Regions from separate parts of the Homo sapiens genome. Here regions 1 and 2 are each linked to region 3. The links are contacts of gene promoters, found by promoter capture Hi-C in blood cells and fetal thymus (Javierre and others, 2016). All regions are on one chromosome and are shown on one strand. Each heading gives the region's core, a stretch centred on a gene start or on the middle of the fragment in contact. The rest is flanking DNA. Distances are from core to core; before and after follow the strand shown.

The links. The method cuts DNA at HindIII sites, captures the fragments that hold promoters and counts their contacts. A CHiCAGO score of 5 or more calls a contact.
Region 1: a fragment that was not itself captured here is called in contact with the fragment with the promoter of ZBTB46 in region 3 in 1 of 17 cell types (monocytes); the score reaches 6.1 in monocytes.
Region 2: a fragment that was not itself captured here is called in contact with the fragment with the promoter of ZBTB46 in region 3 in 2 of 17 cell types (monocytes and M1 macrophages); the score reaches 7.5 in monocytes.

Annotation. Positions count from the first base shown.
Region 1 is chr20:63,593,496-63,596,467 of GRCh38, reverse strand. It overlaps GMEB2 (glucocorticoid modulatory element binding protein 2), which reads left to right. Exons shown (of 10, transcript NM_012384.5): 6 at 701-858. Among named protein-coding and RNA genes, the nearest start is that of HELZ2, 21 kb to the right of the region's middle. The HindIII fragment of the contact is 6,029 bases long and covers 1-2,972 here.
Region 2 is chr20:63,609,772-63,613,048 of GRCh38, reverse strand. All of the region lies in intron 2 of GMEB2 (glucocorticoid modulatory element binding protein 2), which reads left to right. Among named protein-coding and RNA genes, the nearest start is that of GMEB2, 16 kb to the left of the region's middle. RefSeq lists an enhancer at 2,387-2,556. The HindIII fragment of the contact is 1,398 bases long and covers 802-2,199 here.
Region 3 is chr20:63,829,892-63,833,367 of GRCh38, reverse strand. ZBTB46 (zinc finger and BTB domain containing 46) reads left to right here and starts at 2,104. Exons shown (of 5, transcript NM_001369741.1): 1 at 2,104-2,271. RefSeq lists a silencer at 1,947-2,086. The HindIII fragment of the contact is 15,017 bases long and covers 1-3,476 here.

The DNA of each region.
Region 1 (2,972 bases), core at 346-2,845, 240 kb after region 3:
GTGTGCCTGAGGTCAGTGCTGCCCAAAGATTGAATGAGGCTGGAGCCTCTGACCCTCGTTTCATGGGTCGAGGCAGGCTCGTTGAGACACACAGGACTGAGACCCTGGACCTCCGGAGAGGCAGAAGAGAGGGCCCTGGGAGGGCGGCTCTCAGCAGTTTGGGCCGTACGAAGCCTTCCTGGTAAAGATGAGGATGAGCGGCAGCCATGGCCGTTGGTGCTGTCCTGCGCCCTCATCACTCTTCTTGGCTGTCTCTGTGCCTTTAGAAGGAGGAAGGTTCTCCTGGAAGTGATTTCCCACCTTCCTCTGCTTCAGAATGAGTCACGCATGATGCAGGTGGACTGGGCCCACCTTTGTTAGCTGTGGGTCACTCCCTTGGGGCTGGGGTAGTGGGACATCCCAGAAAGGCCCAGCCCCACAGACTCTGACGGGCACCTCCAGGACACCCACTGGCCAGCGCTTGCCCCCTTCCTGGGGACAGTGCCGTAGCGTGGGCCTGGGCCGGCTGCTTCTTCAGCAGCAGGGTCCTGCACGCCGAGCTCGCGCTAAGAGGGAAGTAGAGCCCACCCTGCCCTGTGGAGCTGCCAGCGCCTCTGCTAGGCCTGCCCCACGCAGGTGGATGGCCCAGGTCAGGGTGGGCGGGCCAGGTGCCTTCGGCTCTGGGGCCGACCTGGACGCTCCATGCCACTGTCTGTCACAGGAAGATCATGGACTCCGGGGAACTGGACTTCTACCAGCATGACAAGGTCTGCTCCAACACCTGCCGCAGCACAAAGATTGACCTCTCAGGAGCCCGTGTGTCCCTGAGCAGCCCCACGTCGGCCGAGTACATTCCCCTCACGCCCGCCGCAGCCGACGGTAGGTGCACAGGGCTGCTCGTCCTGACCCAGCCCCACCCTGGCCATGGCCACAGAGGGTGACATGCCCCTGGGTGGCCTCCTTGGCCCCAGGCGTTTGCTCACGCCAGGACTGCCGGTCTCCTGCCTGGGACCCTGAGTTGTCTGGGATCAGCCTCCTCCTGCCTCACAGAGGAGATCTGGCAGAATTGCTGCTTTCATTGACAAGGAAGATTGAAGCACTTTTCTTTTTAAGCCATTTTGGTTGTAATATAATAACTCACGTGTGGGGAAGGGTATAGCGAGTAACAGAGAGTGCCTGGGCGCCCACCCGGCCCCCTCCCTCCCACCCCCACGGCCCAGCCCCAAATCTGGACCCGCTTCCCTCCTGACCTGGCGGTTTACGGAACTGCGCGCCTGTGCTCCCGCCTTCCGTGCTGGGTGCCTTGCTGCAGGTATTCCTGCCACTTGGGTTTTTGGGTGACGCTTTAGATACTGTTCCACGTTGGTGTCTGTAGCTCTAAACTGTGGAGAGGTTGTTCCCTAGAATTCTTTCCAGCTTTATGAATAGAGAAATTTTTCTTAAAACTACAGTTAGGCTGGGTGTGGTGGCTCACACCTGTAACCCCAGCACTTTGGGAAGCCGAGGCGGGTGGATCACTTGAGGCCAGCCTGGCCAACAGGATGAAACCCTGTCTCTATTAAAAGTACAGAAGTTAGCCGGGTGTGGTGGTGCATGCCTGTAGTCCCAGCTACTCAGGAGGCTGAGGCAGGAGAATCGCTTGAACCCAGGAGGCGGAGGTTGCAGTGAGCTGAGATCGCTCCACTGCCCTCCAGCCTGGGCGACAGTGTGAGATTCCATCTCAAAACAAAAAAACTGAAGTTAAAGTGAAGTTAGGTCCTGGGCTCCCTGGTCACATCTCTGGGTGGTCTTTGGTGATGTGTTTCCAGCAATGCCACATGCATTGTCCCTAAGCTGCCACTCCGCATTGCTGGCCAGATTGTGTTCCTGTGTGCCCAGGGACGTCCTTGTTGTTGGCCCAGGTGGGACCCAGTTGAGTCCTGTCCTGTCCCGCTGGGTAGGAGAGTGAGGCCAGGGCACTAGGGAGGCCTCACCCTTCTCCTGGGCCCCCTTCCACGTCCTGCTGGGGCAGCCTGGCAGGTTCAGTGCTGAGTCCTGAGAAGCCCAGGACACTTGGGCTGCTGTGGTCAGAGGGGCTGGGTAGAGCCCAGCCTCCTGTCTGTCCTCCCCAGGGCCTCCCCAGCGGCTCCACCGCGTTAGTGTTGGCCCTGCCTGACCGCCTGCCAGGGAAGGAACTGGGCCTTCCACGCCCTGTAGTCAGTGCCTCACAGCTAGGCTGAGGCTCAGCTCTTCTGAAGATGATTTGGGTTCTTTAACCTGCAATCTCTGAGAACCATTGACTTGGCTACTGTGCAGTTAGTAAAAGATGCTGTGCCAGCCCCAACTCGGAAAAACGACTCATTCACGCCCCAAATAATTCCAGATGTGTAATATGAGTCATACTCACCACTGCCATGTCTTTGATGAATGTGGAAAAGGCCAGTATTCCCAAAACATTCAACTGCTTCCAGGTCGTTGGTGGTGGTGTTGGAGAAGGAGTCCTGCTCTGTCGCCCAGGCTGGAGTGCAGGGGCCTGATCTCGGCTCACTGCAACCTCTGCCTTCCGGGTTCTAGCGATTCTCCTGCCTCAGCCTCCCGAGTAGCTGGGATTACAGGCGCACGCCGCCACACCCGGTTGACTTTGTATTTTAGTAGAGACGGGGTTTTGCCGTGTTGCCCAGGCTGTTCTCGAACTCCTGACCTTAGGTGATCCACCCGCCTCAGTCTCCCAAAGTGCCTGGATTACAGGCGTGAGCCACCACATCCGGCCCCGGGTTTGTTTTTTAAGCCAGATCTGTGTATAAAGTCTCTATCAGCAACGCCCAAAATGGCCACATATGAACGACACGCCCAGTTGTGTTCTGCAGGCGCGAGAGAGGGACCCACAGGAAGAGCCAGGACGGTTTCTGTCTCTCAAAGCCCCACTTGTTCTGGTGTAGAAAAATGGAAACATGATAGATACTGAGATTTATGATGACTTCAATGAAGCATCACTTGAAGAGGCGAGGTGAGGG
Region 2 (3,277 bases), core at 251-2,750, 220 kb after region 3:
CAGAGCTTGCAGTGAGCCAAGATTGCGCCACTGCACTCCAGCCTGGGCAACAGAGTGAGACTGCGTCTCCGAAAAAAAAAAAGAAAAAGAAAGAAAGAAACCATCCAAAACTTAGTGGCTTAAGACAAGACATAGTTGTTATTATTTTTAATTCTGTTGGTTGGTTCGTGGTTCTGCTGGTCTGGGCCGGCCTCACCAACCCCTGTCGTCAGCTGACAGCTTGGCAAGGACCTGCTGGTCTGGGTGGCCTTGGCCACAGGGGTCTCTGGAGGGAGGCAGTCTGAGGCACAGGTAGGCTCGGCTGGGTGGCTCTCCTCTGCTTTGCCCGGTCTGTGATCCTCCACCTGGAGGCCTGGACTTCTTTGCCCCGTAAGCCCACAGTTGCAGAGGAAAGTGGGCCTCCTGCTCACTTCTGTTGCCTTGATTGACGCAAGCGACATCACCAAGTGCTGGTTCAAGGGCAGAGCTAAGACTGCCTCTTGGTAGGAAGTTACAAAACGTTGAGATCATTTCTGTGGCCACAGAATGACATTTCCATTCGTCCGCCTCCCGCCTTTTCCTGGGCCTTCCCAGCTCACCCCTTGTGGCCACGTCGGGTCTGGGTGTGGCTGGGGCTTCTTGGTTATGGCACGTCTTGATCCAGAGACTGGTGAACTAAAACCTAGCGACTTCCCCTCCCCTACTGAGCGTGCGGTGGCAGACAAGACAGGACGGGCTCCAGGGCAGGTGGCTTGTTCGAAGGCACCTCACTGATCCAAGATGGGGCAGGGTGGCCCTTTGGCCAGATGCGGCCAGAAAGCTTTCTAAGGTGTGAGGGAAGAGTGACAACCATAGCCCAGGTTGGTCTTTATTCTGAGACCATCTCTTTTTTAAATTTTCTATTTTTTATATTTTTTCCTTTCTTAGATTTCTGTGGGTCAGAACCATTTTTTACCTTGACAGAGTCTTTTGCCAGTGGAGAAACTGGAGACATGAAATGATTTTTTGTTTTTCGAAACAGAGTCTCGTTCTGTTGCACAGACTGGAGTGCAGTGGCACAGTCACGGCTCATGGCAGCCGTGACCTCCTGGGTTCAAGGAATCGTCCTGCCTCAGCCTCCTGAGTAGCTGGGACTCTACAGGCATGTGCCACCATGCCCGGCCCCGTGTAGATTTTTAGTACAGTGCTGGGACTGCAGGCATGTGCCACCACGCCTGGCTAATGGGCTCTCACTGTGTTGCCCAAGCTAGTCTTGAACTCCTGGACTCAAGCAGTCCTCCCACCTCAGCCTCCCGAAGCACTGGGGTTACAGGCTTGAGCCACCATGTCTGGCCGATGCAAAACAATTTGATCCCCTGGGGATTCCTTGTTTGGAGAAGAACCTTCTAGCTCCACTGTGTCTGGAATGTTCCTTGCGAGATCACACTAGTCAGATGTGTTTCCTTTTTTTTTTTTGAGACCAAGTCTCACTCCGTCACACAGGCTGGAGTGCAGTGGCATGATCTCAGCTCACTGCAGCAGCCTCCACCTCCCGGGTTCAAGTAAATCTCTTGCCTCAGCCTCCTGAATAGCAGGGATTACAGGCACCCGCCACCACGCCTGCCTAAATTTTGTATTTTTCGTAGAGACAGGGTTTCACCATATTGGCCAGGCTGGTCTTGAACTCCTGACCTCAAGTGATCCACCACCTTGGCCTCCCAAAGTGCTGGGATTATAGGCATGAGCCACCACGCCCAGCCTGTTTCTTCTCTTTTAAATTGCTGTGGCATAAGGTCCTGCCAAGGTTTCCTCTGCCTCATGGCACAGTGGCCCCTTCCACACACAAGAGCCGGGTCTGGGATGGCATTTGTGCCCTTAGCCTGTGCCCTCTCCCCACGCAGAGGCGGTGCTGTGTGTCCCAGGCTGGGGACAGCAGTGCTTGTTTCTGGCAGTTTCTGAATTAGCCATGCTTGCAGCCTAACAAACCACCGCAGAGCTTGGTGGCTTAAAGCAGCAGACACTGGTCATTTCTTAAGGTTTTCGGGCCTGGGCTGGTGCTGCTGGGCCTCGCCGGGGGGTCCAGGCTGGGCTCACTTGCATATCCGGGCATTGGTGGGCTGGCCGAGGCTCTGCATGTGGTCCTCATCTGCCAGGACACCTGCCTGGGTGTGCTTAGCAGGAGGAGAGCCAGAGTCCTCGTAGGGCCTCGTCACAGCCTCTTGGTCAAAGCTCTTCAAAGCTTGGCCCAAAGTCAAGTGGAGGGGGTGGGAAATAGCCCCCTGTCTTGATGGAGGGAGCCATGAAGGACCAGAGGGCATTTTTCAGTCTGCAGTTGCTTTGCCAGGACGCCAAGGCTCTGCCCTCGCGGGACAGTGGCTTATGGAGCAGTGGAGAGTCTGCATGCGCCTTCTTCTCTGAGAAGAGAACCCCACGTGGCAGCTGAGGCAGGGCTGTCTTGAAGGACTTAAAGATCCTCTTCTTTTTTGTGGGGAATTAAATCTGTTCTTCTACCATCTGGAAATTGAGACTTCCTCTTGCTACATGTTTTTTTTGTTTTGTTTTCTTTTTTTGAGACAGATTCTCACTCTGTCGCCCAGACTGGAGTGCAATGGCGCGATCTCGGCTCACTGTAACCTCCACCTCCCGGGTTCACGCCATTCTCTTGCCTCAGCCTCCTGAGTAGCTGGGCCTACAGGCGCCCGCCACCACGCCCGGCTAATTTTTTGTATTTTTAGTAGAGACGGGGTTTCACCGTGTTAGCCAGGATGGTCTCGATCTCCTGACCTTGTGATCCGCCTGCCTCGGCCTCCCAAAGTGCTGGGATTACAGGTGTGAGCCACCGTGCCCGGCTGGTGTGCGTGTGTTTTTAAGCAAACTTCTGGAAGTTTAGAAGTGCACACATCATACAGTTGGCTGTTATGAGGTGCACAGCTGGGAACCCCACCCAGACCTCTCCCAGCTTCTCCACATCATCTCCCCAGAGGCAGCTGCCCGCACGGGTTCCAGAAACTGGAGACTTGTTCCCTGTTTCAGACAACCCTCATGCCAGTGTGGGAACACCATGTCTGCAGGATTAATTTCTAGAAATGGAGGTGGAGTCAGAGGGGCATGTTTCTAGAAATGGAGGTGGGGTCAGAGGGGCATGTTTCTAGAAATGGAGGTGGGGTCAGAGGGGCATGTTTCTAGAAATGGATGTGTGGGTCAGAGGGGCATGTTTCTAGAAATGGAGGTGAGGTCAGAGGGGCATGTTTCTAGAAATGGAGGTGTGGGTCAGAGGGGCATGTTTCTAGAAATGGAGGTGGGGTCAGAGGGGCATGTT
Region 3 (3,476 bases), core at 855-3,354:
CGCCTGCCTCGGCCTCCCAAAGTGCTGGGATTACAGGCGTGAGACACCGCGCCCGGCCCTCAGCAAGTTTCTACCAAGACAGGCAGCCCTAACCTGGCAGGTGGGGTTGGCCTGGGTCGTGGTGAGATCAAGGTTTGGTTCTTATGGGCAGGCCTCCTAAGCGATGACTGAGTGCCACTGTGTGTTCCGCCAGGCAGCTGCTGCTGCTCTCCATCCCTGCATGGACAACGGACATGGCAAACCATCAACACTGCTCTCCTTGGAGGCTGTCTAGGGAGGTCCAGACATCTTGGGAGAGACTGGGGTTCTCTTTTGCGCAAGAGAGCATGGGCAGGCTCTGCGGGAGGCCCTTGGGGCAGGCATCAGGGCTCTGGTCCTCCTTGCTTTGGCTCGGTGGGCCCGAGCTCTCCTGTCTCCCCAGGCCTCCTTTCCTCCGTGGGGTACAACTGGGCTCTGGGTGGGCAGGTGGGGGCTCCTGCAGGCAGTGCTGTTTTCTCCAAGGGGGATGCACGTGACCCGCCAGACCCTCCTGGAAGCCGCCTCTTCTCAGGGTGGTTGTGCTCAGCCCCCACTTCCCGAAGGTCGGTGAGGCTGGGGCTACAGTTTCAGACCAGAGCAGGCAGTGCCACCGAGAGGGTGCCGCGCGAGGTAGGCCGGCGACGGGGCTTCCTGGGCCGCAGTGCCATCCCGGCGACCTTGGCGAGGGGATGGGAACGGGGTGTCCGCACAGCCATTTCCAGGCGCCCGCGACGGCAGTAAGGGAGTGTCCCAGGCGTTGGTCCCGGCAGCCACACCTCGCTTCGCCTTTGCTCACTCATGGAGAGCCCTCAGCCGCCTCCCACTGCCGCTCCTGAATGCGCCTCACACATCCAGATTTGAAAGCACCCATAGGGCCGCCGCCTCCCACCTCCCGAGGAATCCGCTGCGCTGGGCCCGCAGGGAGGCAGGCTGGACGGCCCGGGCGCCTCCCCATTGGTTGGCCGGGCCGGGCTCGACTCCCTCGCGCGGCTGCCGGCCACAGGCTCACCTCCCTTCCCGCCGCGCCCGGGGAGAGGAAGCGAGGTGGCCTTTACCCCTGCGCAGGCCGGCCAGGAATGCGGGGCCGCGCTTCCCACTCTACCCGCCCGAGGGCTGAGGACGGCGGAGGCGAGAAGCGACGCGCAGAGTCCGGGCGCCGAGTGGTGGAGACGCGTCCCAGGCCGTTCGGATCGGGGCTGCACACGGGCTGGGGCGAGGCCCGGGCCGCTGGTTCCCGCCCCCTCCCGGAGCCATTCGTCCCCCGCAGACAACACGACGGGAGGGACCCACGCGCGGCCGCCGGTGCCCCTAGTCAGCCAAAAGCGAGCCCCACTGGCGGGCACCCCCACGAGGCCTGCGCCCGAGGTGCGCCGATCTCCGGGTGCGCCGAGGCCCCCGAGGGTAGGCGCGCGCGGTGCCCAGGCCCTTCCAGACCCCGCACCCCGGGCGGCCTTCCTTGGGGGCGCCTTTTCCGCACCGCGAGCGGCCCGCGTTGATGCCCGGCCGGGCTGGGGGAGTCGCCAAGTTTGCGAGACGCGCGCAGTGCAACCGCGCGTCAGGCGCGGGGACGGCCGGTGACCTGGGCACCCGCGCGCCCCCGAGGAACCTGCGCGTGGGCAGCGCCCGGTGCGCGGCCCGGGAAGGGAGCGGGTGCCCTCGCCGGGGTCGCCGCTCCCGTGGGGTGTTTCCAGGCTGCTCCGCGCTCGCGGGGCAAGGGCGCAGCGGGGGCCAGGGGGACCCCCGCGCCGCGCCGCCCCAGCCCCCCGCCAGCCCAGGGGAGGGGGCTTCCCACAATGCCCAGCGAGCTCCAGCCCGCACTTCCGCTGTCCGGCTGCCCGCGGGGGGGAGAACGGACCCCCGGCGCGGCCCCCTGCGACCCCGCGGCGCGGCGCCGGGAGCCGAGCGAGGGGCGGGGCCGGCGGCCGGGCCGGCGTGGGCGGGGCCCGGGGCGGTGGCCGCGGCCGGGGCGCGGCGCGGGCCAATCAGCGGCGGCCGGGCGCGCGCCGGGGGGCGGGGTCAGGGTCCGCGGGCGGGGCGCGCGCGCGCGGGCGGCGGGGGCCGCGGGGTTGGAGCGGGCGCGGGGGCGCGCGCCGGCCTGACGGACCGACGGACGGACGGACGGACCGAGCAGCCCCGGCGAGCGCGCAGCTCGGACCCGCCCGGACGCAGCGCCCTCCCGGCGGCGGCGGCGATCACCGGCGCCGGCCCGGCGGCCGCGGCGCCCGCCCTCGCCCGCGCCCCATGGGGTCACAGGTAAGCGGCGCCGGCTCATTGTCCGCGCGGCCGGGCGGGCGCATCGCGGCGGGGGCCGGGCCCGGAGCCGGGAGCCGGGAGCCGGGGCCGCTGCGAGCCCGGGCGCGCCCCCGCCGCCGGCCGCCCCGCCACGCCCCGCCCCGCGGGGGCGCCCTCCCGGGGGCCATCGGCGCTCCCAGCTGCGGCGCGGGCTCCGGGGGCGGCGGCGGAGACCCCGGCCCGGCCCCCGCGGGTGCCCCCCAGGCCGGCGGCGCGGGGCGGGGCGCGCGGGGGCGGCGCGGGTTCCCCGCGGGGCTGAGCGCGGAGGCGGCTGGGCTGCCCCGGCCCCTCGGCCCCCGGCACCTCCCGCCGCCGCCGCGCTCCCTCCCCGGCACCTCCGAGAGGGGAATTTTCCAGCTGGTAATTTCTGCTGCGTCAACGCCTGGCCCCGAGGCAGCCCGGGGGCGTCTTGGCGCCCCCCGCCCGCGCCCCCCGCCGGCACAGCCCAGCCGCACCCGGAGCCGCCCGCGCCGAGTTTGCCAAGAGTCGGAACTGCGGGAGGTGGGCGCGGGCGGGTCCCGGCGCCCTGAGGCCGGGGGGTCATTGTCTCCCCGGACGCCGGGCGCCGGCCTGGTCTCCATCTTAATCGCCGGCCGAACCGGGGCGCAGGGGCCTCGGGGCGGGGCGGCTCGGGGCGCGGAGGGCTCGGGGCGCGCGGGGCGGACGGGGCGCGCGGAGGAAGCGGGGTCCGCTGCGAGCCGCGTCTTTGTTTCTCTGTAAATAGACATGTCAGTTTCGCGGGGGAGCGCGAGCCGGTGTCTGACAACTCAATCCCTAAGGCAAACGGGGAATTCTCTGCGCCAGAGGGAGGGCTCCTGCTAGTTGGGGTTCCCCTGGCCCCGCTGACAGATTCACTGTTTGTAGGTTTAACGAAGCACACACAATAGGGCTGGACCGAGGAGCCAGGGTACAGACCAGATGGGGCGAAGAACGGATATTTTCTGACAGCGAAGAAATATAAACAAAAGAAAGTTTGAGATTCGCAGCGAATTTCCTCTCTCGCTTTCCGTGCTGCAATCTCAACGATGCATTTGGAGTGGATTACGGTGGCAAGATTGTGATCAGCATTGTTTAAAGAAATGCTAATTAGAAACGTGTTTAGCGCGCGGCCTGGGCGCAGACACCTGTGCGCCGAGAACTCACGGGCATTTTAATTGTATCGATTG